Regions from separate parts of the Homo sapiens genome. Here regions 2, 3 and 4 are each linked to region 1. The links are contacts of gene promoters, found by promoter capture Hi-C in blood cells and fetal thymus (Javierre and others, 2016). All regions are on one chromosome and are shown on one strand. The core of a region is centred on a gene start or on the middle of the fragment in contact, and the rest is flanking DNA. Distances in the headings are between cores, read along the strand shown.

Region 1 (2,686 bases), core at 117-2,616:
TCCAAAAGTAGCCAATCGCAGGGAGGATTGAAAGAGGGGCACTCCGATAGGACAGAAATGGAACATGGGAGGGGACCACAAGGGAATAAAAGCTGGCCACCACCAGCCAGCACCTGGGGTTCTCTTCCATGCTGTGGAAGCTGTCCTTTTGCTCTTCGCAATAAACCTTGCTACCGCTCACTCTTTGAGTCCGTGCCATCTTTAAGAGCTGTTAACAGTCACCGGGAAGGTCTGCAGCTTCATTCTTGAAGTCAGGGAGACCACGAACCCCCTGGCAGGCACCAACTCCGACACATTACTAGGCGCTAAGCATTGTGCTAGAGAGTTTGCTGTGGTATAGGGGCAACAATCTTTACTTTGGAATGAGAAAAACTGTTTCAAACAACTTACTTGCCATGAGTAATTTAATTTCTCTCTTTTCTATAAAACATGGGTAATATTTATCTCACAAGGATGTTTGGGATTAAAAAGTGACAACCTATGTCAATAGGACAGCATGATGCAGTGTAGGTCTTCAATGAATAGCATGGAGAGTGCTTGCAAAGGGCAACGATAAAATCTAATATAAATAAGACGTTGTAGACAAACGCTTTAAAAACACAGGGGGTAAGGTCTGATGTGCCAGCGTCACTACAGACGTACTTAGAAAAGTGTTCTGGGGATCTAAGTAAAGGAGGACTCCCATTTGCTGGGAGTGAGAAAAGAGCTTTAGGGAAACTGCAGCGTGATGGGCGAATCCTCCTTTCAATATATCTACCCTGAAAGTCGGCTCCAGCCCTGCCGAACATCCTGGCCCAGCTGCACCCGACCCAGCGTGAGATGTCAAATGACCTCTTGGCGCTTCCACGCCAGACTGGAGGGGCTCTGCACAAGCCTTGCCCGACTCATTCCGGGCACCTTGAGCGTGGGAGTCCACACTGCCCCTTGACCGACCAGCTGCCAGGTTGGCCGCACTAACTTGAGCCCACCCCCACTCGAAGCTCCGCGCCGACAGCAAGTGGAGACTTGGGGGTACCGGATAGAGGAAGGAACTCCCAAGTTGTCAGCTTCAGACCATCCACGCCTCCCCCAACACGGAACCACCTTCAGCCTCCCAGCTGGTATCCCACCCCCCCTCCCCCCACCCGCTGGGCCAGAGCCCAGCCCTCGGACAGCGACCGTGCTCCTCCACACACCCCGCGCTCCAGCCCCTGGGCATCCAGCAGCCGGCGTTCGCACGCTCTGTCATCGATTGGCGCTGCCTTGCTCCTTGGGCTCCCGTCGCGTGGAAATCGGCCCGAAACTTGGAAAGTCCAGCGGAGCGCGGGGAGGGAACCGAGGCAGGCGGGCCAGGGGATTGCCGATCGCACGGATGGGCGCGCGCTCAGTCTGGCGAGTGGCGGCGCCGGCTAGCCCGAGCGGCGCGAGGCCGGAGTCCGGCGTCCGCCACCCTCTCGTCTCGCGCTGGCGCGCGAGCTCCTTGCCCTTGCCCCCAGGAGGGCCGCCCCGCGTGGGGCTCTCGCACCGCCCGGGGTGGGAGCAGGCGAGCCGGAGGGAGGAGGGAGGAGGGAGCGCGCGCGGGCGGCGGCGGCCCCTCCCTTCCCCCTCCCGCAGCCGCGGAGAGCGCAGGGAGCAGCCGGTGGCTCGGCGGCGGCGGCGGCGGCGGCGGCGGCGTCGGCGTCGTCTACCTCCAGCTTCTCCTCCCTCCTCCTCCGTCTCCTCCTCTCTCTCTCCATCTGCTGTGGTTATGGCCTGTCGCTGGAGCACAAAAGAGTCTCCGCGGTGGAGGTCTGCGTTGCTCTTGCTTTTCCTCGCTGGGGTGTACGGTAAGTGTCCGCGTCCCCGCGCCCCGCTGACCGAACAAAGCTGAGGCGACCCGGGCCCCGAGGCCTCCAGGACGGGGGTTCCCCTGGAGACTCCCGCGGAGACCCTGGCTACCGGCGGGACAAAGACCGGTGAGGGGGTGGATGTGGCGGAACGGGTGTCCCCACACGGAGATGCTTTTCTCCACTCGTCCACCTCCAGACCCTCGGGTGGTGGAGAGGGGCTGGGGGGCCCGGCCGGGAGGGCCCCGGCGGAGCGAGGGGGTGGCGGGCGGACTTCCCGACCTGGGTTCGAGGGCCCCCGCGGCCAGTTGCTCCAGGACCCGTAGCCTGGCACAATCCACACACAAAGATGCTTGACTGTGAGAAAGCAGAGGAGCTCGCCCCCGCCGCTGCCGGGACGGTCCTTCCCCCCGCCCCCTCAACCCGGGGTTAGGAAGTTCTCTCACCGGCGAGATTCCCACCGCGCCAGCCCTTGTCCTACTCGATTCCCTGAAAAGGCTTCCCGCTGACTTCTCCCCACTCCACCTCGGGGGCAAGGGCTCTGCCGAATCCGGGCGTGCAGGGTCCTGTTGGTTCCCCGGGAGCAGCACGCGGGAGAAGGCCAGAAAATAGTTTCCAGCCCCACCTCAGTCTCTCCTGTTAGGGTGTACACATCTGTCCTGACTCCTAGTTCAATTGTAATTTCATCCATCCTCGTCCGCCGCTGTGGTCACTGTTACTTTATTCCAGTCGATGGATCGGGTTAGAGATAACTCCTTTCGGGTTAAGAGAAGGCTGAAGACTGTGCGGACAGCTTTATATTGCGTTGGGGTCTGAGCAAGAGCTGAATGGAATTAATTGCAAAGAACATCTATCTCTTAAGATAATTAAGTTACACTTCT
Region 2 (2,686 bases), core at 103-2,602, 1.2 Mb before region 1:
AGCACCAGGGGGCAGGAATTCTTCCATTTTCACTCCTAGAGAGACATACAAAATAAGAACAATGAGAAACATGTGTGTTGGTTTTTGAATGACAGGGACCTTTTCTAATGACCTAATGTTTGCAACACAATAGGAATGAAATCTTTCAAAATTTCATTCGTGATATTAACTGTTTTCTTGTGACATCTCTTACTGTGTATGATAATATTAATAGCACTTTATAGTTTTCAAAGTACTTTCATGAATATTATGGCATCAAAGTGGAATAAGTGTCAGTGTCTCCATTTTATAGATGAGGAAACACGCTGAAGGAGGCTAAAGGAATTGATTATGTTAATAAAGCTATTAAGTGATGAAGCCATGCCTAAGCCTTGGATTTTATAATTACTAATCTAATAACCTCACTATAACATTAGCCTCTACATTAGGAATAAGTGAGCATTCATTAGGGTTGCTATTGAAAACAATGCAAATCAAATAACTCTCAGTACACTACATATAGGTTATATTCTAAAGAGGCCAAATAGAAACCATTTTGTAAAGTAATTAATATAATCTTAATTTATATTAATATAAATTTAAAATTTTATGCAGTAGTTTTGCTGAACATAGTTTATCTCTATCCAGGGCTGATATTTAGCTGGTAGACTAATATAGTCTACCAGTACACTAATATAGTCATTTTGCATTGGCATCCATGCTGATTGATCACTGCCTATTTCTAGTCCATGATTAAATATTTTGAATATTACCATTGACTGTGGTGGGTAAGCATCACTAAGATTGACTCTAGCTCCCATTGGTCAGCATATGGTAAAATCAGGCTTGGCTTATCCCCTCTGTACTCTGGACTAGAATAAGACTGCCTTTTATATTCATAAGCTGAAAACATGGCAGAGGTACCTAGTCCTGTAGTCATAAAAGGGGACTACCTATCCTTGTCTCTTTTTCTCCTTAATGAATCTAATACTCATTTTTTTTTCCATTTAGCTTAAAGGACCCCTGTATTCTGTTCTTTTTGTTTTGTACATGACCTTACTCACCATCTGAGACAACCAATATGTTTCTGCTTCCCCTGCTTTATTATCTATATGAAGATAGCTCATTTGTAAGGAGAGGAAAGAGGATGAGCAGAAAGGAAATGACCTACTTTTACAGGTTCAAAGACAAAAGCTTGAACTGTACTAGAGCACTGGAGGTTAGAACAGTAGCTTAAAACTCAACATGTGTTTCCATTTTAAAATTATTTAATCTAGGCAAAGACCACTAAGAAAGTCACCCAGAGGTGTCCTACAAGGTTTGTATTATAGGTGCTGAAAAACTATGATTCTCAGTCCCTAGTTTGTCCCATGTAAGAATGTACCTAAAATTATTTAAAGTTAATAGAATTCTGTACATTTGAATAAATTCATTTTTTAAAAAATATGATAATTAGAATGCTATGAAATGAAACTAAAAATAGCTGGCATACAATTCCAAATTAAATAGAAACAGTTGCCACCTTGCTATTGAGAGGGCCTTAAAAAGCTTATTTGTTTTTCAGCCTATTTTTTTCTTAAGGGATTTTAAAACATAGTACTAAAAGTAGTTTAATGTCATAAAAACCACCTAAGCTGTTATGATGCATCTTTTGGAAGTCAGAAATATTTTACTGATCCATATTTAAAAGTAAACATCCCTGAACTGTAATTTTAATTAGATCTATCAATAGAGTAGCTTTATTTCAATTCAGCACACACTTATATTTATGTACCTATTATTTCTTCCCTACCATATAGGAAACACTATGATCAGTTTCCAAAGATTGCTTGACACTAAAGCAATAAATGGCAATATTCAAAGGGTATTGAGATTTTCTTTTTAAAATAATGTGCTTTTTTAAAACCTCAGTTGAGAACAAATAGAATGATTTGGCCTCTGAATTTGTAAGAAAAGAATTCAGACCCAAGTCCTTTGAGTAACATATGCTGAGTATAAGTGGCATAAGATCACACTGGTTGACCCAGAAAGTTTGATTTTGATGTTATAGATAGCTACAGATAGACAGATATAGACGTATACATGTAATGCATATATATTTATAAAAATAACAGAGTCTTCTGGAGCAACAGAAGAAACAAAAGGGGCATTTACCACTGTGTGAATTCAGGTGCATTTCTAGAGCTCGAGCATTTGAAAAGCTCTTGGTGCACTGTGGGAAGGGGCACAGGCTGGAAATCTGATGGGCACTGTCTTCATTTTCCTCTGACACCGGAGCAGCTTCTCTTTGCCTCCCACTGCAGTAGTACATCAAATGGGCCTGCAGATTCCGCTCACTCCGATACCAGATGCCACAGGACTTGCAAGGGAATATATCCTCTGCAGGTAAAAACACAAGAGACACATTTGCTGCTGTCCATTTGAAACCAACTGTGGGTAAAGCAGCATTTAGTTCAATTTTTCTCAGACTCCGCTCTCAGGTTCTTAATTGGGCAATCAGATGAGTAACAGTCTTTGGTGTTGTTCTACAGCATAGGACTCGACTTTTAAAGAAATGTTGTACTCTGCAATTTAACTTCCCACAGACTCTAGAGAAAGAGGAGACTCCAACATTTAAAACACAAGATATTGATTTTATTTTATTTTATTTTTTGCGACAGATTCTCACTGTGTTACCTAGGCTGCAGTGCAGTGGTGCGATCTCAAC
Region 3 (2,686 bases), core at 123-2,622, 1.2 Mb before region 1:
CCTTCTTTTACTCAAAATAGATAAAACTATGAAGATAAAGGCCATAAAGATAAATACAACACTCAAACCACATAACAGAGTATAGTTTTAAATCACTGACTGTTTTCACATTCAGTTTAACCAGCGAGATTTTAGCTAAATTTTTACTTATTGTTGAGTAAACTACATGAGGCCCCTTGAAAAACAATTTCCAGAAATGCCAGTGACAAATTATTAAAGTACAAATTAGAGGACAAAAATATTTGCCAAAAATTTCAGAAACAAGAGGCCACTTGGCATACCATTTTCTTTTCCTATTGTAAAACCTATCTATCTGCTGTATAAAGAGCATATTAACTTATTGAACCGATTGCTAGAAGTAAGTCAGAGAACCTTGAAAATATGTTACTATTACAAAATGCCTTAAAATGCTAAACAAAATAATGGCATGAAATAGGGATTTGGGGACGAGCTGCCTGATAACTCTCAAAAACGAATTATGCTGCATTTTCCAACCTCCATAGAGAAGGGCATGCTTCTCTTCGGATTTCTTCTACCATTTGGTGCAACACTCACTTTGGCTATATTCATACAAGCTTCATTAGAGAAGTAAAATGCAATTGTCTCCAGAGATCAAAGGACAATCTATTAAATAAAGCGACTGGAACTCTAGAATGAAATAATATGAAAAGTTAGAATTTTACGGTGAATCAAAATGTAAATTGTACTGGCATACTGTGGCTAAATGCAGAACTGAAGATCAGCTTTATTAAGGGGAAATTGACAGTGGCTTGAATGATATGAAAAAATATGAAAAGAAATATGGATTCTAAACAACCCATTTTACGTACTAGATTAAAACTAGTATTTGTGCTATTTTACAAAATTTAAAAGCACTGGTAGTTAACTAGGATTTTACTAAGAAATATAGAACCCCCAAATGATAAGTACTGTGATTTTTACAGCAAAATTCATATTAAATGATTCAGGACCTCTAAAGGATAGTTTATGCTAAAATAAAAACAAAATAAAGCCTGTTATCAACTATGTTCAGTGGGGGAAATAAAGTGACATATTGTACACTGACCACGTGGTCCTGAAATCTAAGAATTTTGCTCTTAAATGAAACAGAGGACTTAGTACTAACTGTTTTAAATCAAAGGTCATTATGAATTCTGAAAGCTAGAGCCCATGTTTGCCTGAAGGAAAGGAAGAGAGGTGGAGACAGGTAAATCAAACTTCTCTGCACACTAGGGGTTCTGAATTGGACTTCTTTTCAAATGCTTATCAAATACTTGGTGTTTTTTCTTCTAAATGAAAATGACAGATTCTAAAACACCTTACTGTGTATTTCAGTACATTACATCACTTAAGTCATTTACAAAATTGTATAAAATTACCCTGAAATCGCATCAAGTATAGCAATGAACCATGAAACTAAAAGAAAAAAAAATCATGAAAAAACACATTTCACTTTGCAAGGGAAATATAATCGAGTCAAGGTCTAAGAATGAAACAGTTACTCCTTTCACATTCTTGAATACAATCAAACTTATTACAACATTTTTTGAATCCATGGAAGATTTTTTTTTCTAAAAAGAAAACACTGACTAAATAAAAGTATTGATTCAGTGAATTATTGAAAAACGGAAGTAAAAAAGTCATAATAAGGATAATAGAAAATATCTATTAACATTCTACTGAAAATAGAAGAAAATTTTCTATAAAAATCCTGAGTGTATTCAGCAAACATTGCTTCTGCAAATTAATTTTTGGAATAATTTGATTTTGAGTATTTCCAAATATGTGTGTGTGTGTGTGTGTGTGTGTGTGTGTGTGTGTGTCAGAGAGAGAGAGAGAGAAAGAGAGAGAGAGTTTTAAACCTTGATCTAGCTTTACCACCAAAATCCTACAATTTTAAAGTTTGGTTCATGTATCACAAGGCAATTAATTGCACTTCTATCTATTCCCTGGGTTTCATGATTATAGTTCTAAAGGATCAAAGAGAGTCCTGGATACTTACCAATTAATCTTTAAATGACTGGAAAAACACAACAGGCTGAAAATGTGGTCAATAAAATAAATATCCTACTCAAGTTGTAGTATGCTCCCATTTCCAGATCCTGAAAGTAATTAGTTTACTATTCAGTTTCTGGGAAGAGCAGATTTTCTGCATTAATAAAAGCTTCTCTGCTATGCTAATTGGCTGCTGGGTAGGTAGGCTCTACATGTTCTTAGGACCATGATGTTTATGATCCCATCTTTTTTTAGATATGAAAAACAGCTTCCAAACCCTTAGTAAATCACCAAGCCCACTTATGATCTTACTCCATTTGCCAGGCTACTAAAGATAATCATCCCCATATAATGCAAAGAAGTGGCCTTTTAAAAATCAGACAGATCTGGGTAAGGAACTCAACTATAAATATTTAGCATCTATGTGACCTTGGACAATCTACTTAATCCTTCTGAGACACAGTTTCCTCATCTGGAAAATGGGGATTATCCTGTGTATTGGAAGATGATTGTTGTATAAGATCACTTTACATGAAGGACATAGCACAAGGTTGAACACAGAATAGTCACTTCAAAAATGTTAGTTCTACTCTCTTCTCATAATTATTTACTTGGAATGGCAAGAACTCTTTCCTGGAAGCTTTAACTAGGGCAGATTGTAAAAAATCACCTGCTTGAGGTATTGTCCCAG
Region 4 (2,686 bases), core at 124-2,623, 1.1 Mb before region 1:
CTTACATCTTTATTTTATATTCTGCTTTGTTTTATAAGGCTGCCTTTAATATGTATGAATTAAAAATAAAAGATTGAAACTTTAACAACAAGAAGCTGCATTCCATTTTGGTATCAAAGATAATGAACGTGCAAGCTGAAAGTTAATTTCCCTCTCCTAGGATGAATTTTTTCTCCATAAACGTTTAATCATAAAGGAATCATTAGAACTGCAATGCTTCAGTCCAATGTCTTTACCGCCCATTGCTCCAGTAGCTTAGTCAGACCTCCCTAGATTACTGTAATTTACAAAATGAATAAAAAGTATGAAGGCTTTGTTCAGATTTTCAATGCACCATTAATACACTGTTAGAAATTGGTTCCAAAAATGAAATTGCTAAATTCTGGAAGATTTGATGTCTTCTCCTAATGAGAAGCAACATCCCTCACTTGCTAAAGGATCCAGACTTTTCTGATAGAGACTTGGGCTGTTTATTAATAATGAATTTGAATGTTCGCATGTGGAATGTTATCAGCTCACACACAATCCAACCAATAGTTAGCCCTGATGGGGGTAGCTGGGATCCTCATTAGCAGAACATATTTAATCCAGAAGTTTCTTATCAAATGTCACACCTGCATCTCTAAATGGCATTTTCACATTCATTCGCATGTATTTCGGAGATGAGGCTCCAAGGTGCTTTAAGGAGATTAAGAAGGAGAGAGTACAAGCTTATTTTATCATTTAGTGAGTCTGGAAAGAATCCAAGAAGTTTTTGTCTTGTTGTTGTAATTAGAAAGCCTTTTAAGTGATAACGTATGCATAGGAATATGAATATGTAGTGATCATACGAATGCTATTTCAAATAGGGGGACAGCTGCCATTTTTGTTGTAGGCAGAAAACATTAAATTACACTGTATAGTGGGGATTAACTTCAGAACTTTGGGAAAGGAACTAAACCCTCTCATATCTTTTTGCCACAGCCTACCAAAAACACTCAGCTCCATAAAGTTCATTTAGTATACCTTATTAGTAAAAGGTCACAATTCTCCATCAGTTATGCACTGTTTCATCATTCTTCCACACTTTGCTATTCAATAAACTAAGCAGGAAGATACAAGCAACAAACAGACATCTTAGCTTAAATAGTTCTTATTAGTTGCAACACTTATTCATATGACATCATTTTCCTTTGATTTTCAAAATGATTTGTCATCATGGTACAAACATGCAAAGTGATTTTTTAAAATCTGGACATTAAATTACAATACATTCTGAAAATTGAACTTACAACAAATTCCTTTAGATTTCATGAATAGTGTCTCTTTTGATTGTTCATTCATCATTTTTTGGAGGTTGAAGCTCCCCCTCTATATTATAAACTTTCTATTTACAGTAATCATAAGATGTTAACCTAGCAACAAAGTTCGCTCAGAAACTTTTAGTTCATTCAATTCATTATTATATGTGGAATACAAATATGTCTTACATGTAGAAGGACATATGAGCCCTAACTTCTATGTAACACAATCCAGAGACTGTTCATTGTGCCTTTCAATTCAATGCAATATTTCTTTTCTGCTTATCCAAATAGCACAGATATTATAGCATGCTTCCTTCTCGTTGATTTTCAAGAGTTTTAACCTTGAATAGTGTAATCACAATGGGCAAATATTGTTTTATCAAGCAGAGGAAACTGTATAGTATGGTACAAGGAAATCCAAGCAGGATTTGGCATGGAGTGGAAAAAGGAGAAGTGGTTTCACTTTCTTTTTGAAAAAAAATAAGGGAAAGGACAAGGGAGAACACACTACAATTCATAACTTGGTGGTTTTTATCCTGCTTTCAGGTCACTGGAGTTTGCCCCATGAAAAAGGAATTGTGGATCTGAAGCCTAAATAACTTCAGCAATCCACATGTAAGTGAACAGCAACAATCATTTTTTTCAGTTTTATTTTGCTCTCTCAGTGTTCATATCTACAAAAGCCTCTAACCAGTAGTCAAGATAAGTGTTGAACTGAGAAGTATTGATCCAGTAATAGCAGTTCAAGCTTTGACTGTGAGTCCTTAACCCTCCAGACATAATGTCATAGCCTCTTATCCTTGCCTCTTAACATTACCTGCCTATCTCTGCAGAGCTGTCACCTATGGTAATACAGTTCCAAACGCTTTCTAATCATTACTCATTCAGGCAGCATTCATTCTGTAGCCAGTAAAAAAAAAAAAAAAAAAAAAGAAAAAAGAAAAAGTTCAGGTGTCGCTTTGACTTCTAGACAGAACGAGGTGTTTTCTTCTACGGTTTCCTTCAGGCCTTTAATATACTGTGTGTATTAAAATATGCCATCCTAAAAAGAAGCCATTAAAATAATGTCCAGAAGAGGCATTAAGAGAGTTAAGCCATCAGGAACACGTGGCAATCCACTCTGAACAACGTAAAGAGACCACTGGGGTTAGGGAAGACTTTATTCTCAGCAGCAATCCCTCGCTGGAGCAAAGAGCTCAGAGTAAACAACTTTGTGCATGTAAAATCTATCAGTAAGGCAGAACCAGGTGATGGGAGGTGATTGGCATCACTGAACTGAAGGCAGAAATAGCACTTGGTGGACAAAGGTATTGGGAGTAGCAGTGGGACCTAAATATGAGTAGCGTGGAATTAAATAGTCCAATAGTAACAAGAAGTCTACATGTTATGAGTTTCTGTCTTTG

The links. The method cuts DNA at HindIII sites, captures the fragments that hold promoters and counts their contacts. A CHiCAGO score of 5 or more calls a contact.
Region 2: a fragment that was not itself captured here is called in contact with the fragment with the promoter of LRP12 in region 1 in 1 of 17 cell types (fetal thymus); the score reaches 7.7 in fetal thymus.
Region 3: a fragment that was not itself captured here is called in contact with the fragment with the promoter of LRP12 in region 1 in 1 of 17 cell types (M2 macrophages); the score reaches 6.7 in M2 macrophages.
Region 4: a fragment that was not itself captured here is called in contact with the fragment with the promoter of LRP12 in region 1 in 1 of 17 cell types (M1 macrophages); the score reaches 6.8 in M1 macrophages.

The regions. Positions count from the first base shown.
Region 1 is chr8:104,587,938-104,590,623 of GRCh38, reverse strand. LRP12 (LDL receptor related protein 12) reads left to right here and starts at 1,366. Exons shown (of 7, transcript NM_013437.5): 1 at 1,366-1,805. The coding sequence starts at 1,727. RefSeq lists silencers at 1,328-1,667, 2,098-2,207. The HindIII fragment of the contact is 14,799 bases long and covers 1-2,686 here.
Region 2 is chr8:105,798,396-105,801,081 of GRCh38, reverse strand. It overlaps ZFPM2 (zinc finger protein, FOG family member 2), which reads right to left. Exons shown (of 8, transcript NM_012082.4): 7 at 2,134-2,358; 8 at 1-35. ZFPM2-AS1 (ZFPM2 antisense RNA 1) reads left to right here. Exons shown (of 5, transcript NR_125797.1): 3 at 2,640-2,686. Among named protein-coding and RNA genes, the nearest start is that of ZFPM2-AS1, 260 kb to the left of the region's middle. The HindIII fragment of the contact is 354 bases long and covers 1,176-1,529 here.
Region 3 is chr8:105,763,425-105,766,110 of GRCh38, reverse strand. The region is part of intron 5 of ZFPM2 (zinc finger protein, FOG family member 2); the gene reads right to left. Among named protein-coding and RNA genes, the nearest start is that of ZFPM2-AS1, 300 kb to the left of the region's middle. The HindIII fragment of the contact is 1,589 bases long and covers 578-2,166 here.
Region 4 is chr8:105,730,306-105,732,991 of GRCh38, reverse strand. All of the region lies in intron 5 of ZFPM2 (zinc finger protein, FOG family member 2), which reads right to left. Among named protein-coding and RNA genes, the nearest start is that of ZFPM2-AS1, 330 kb to the left of the region's middle. The HindIII fragment of the contact is 1,321 bases long and covers 713-2,033 here.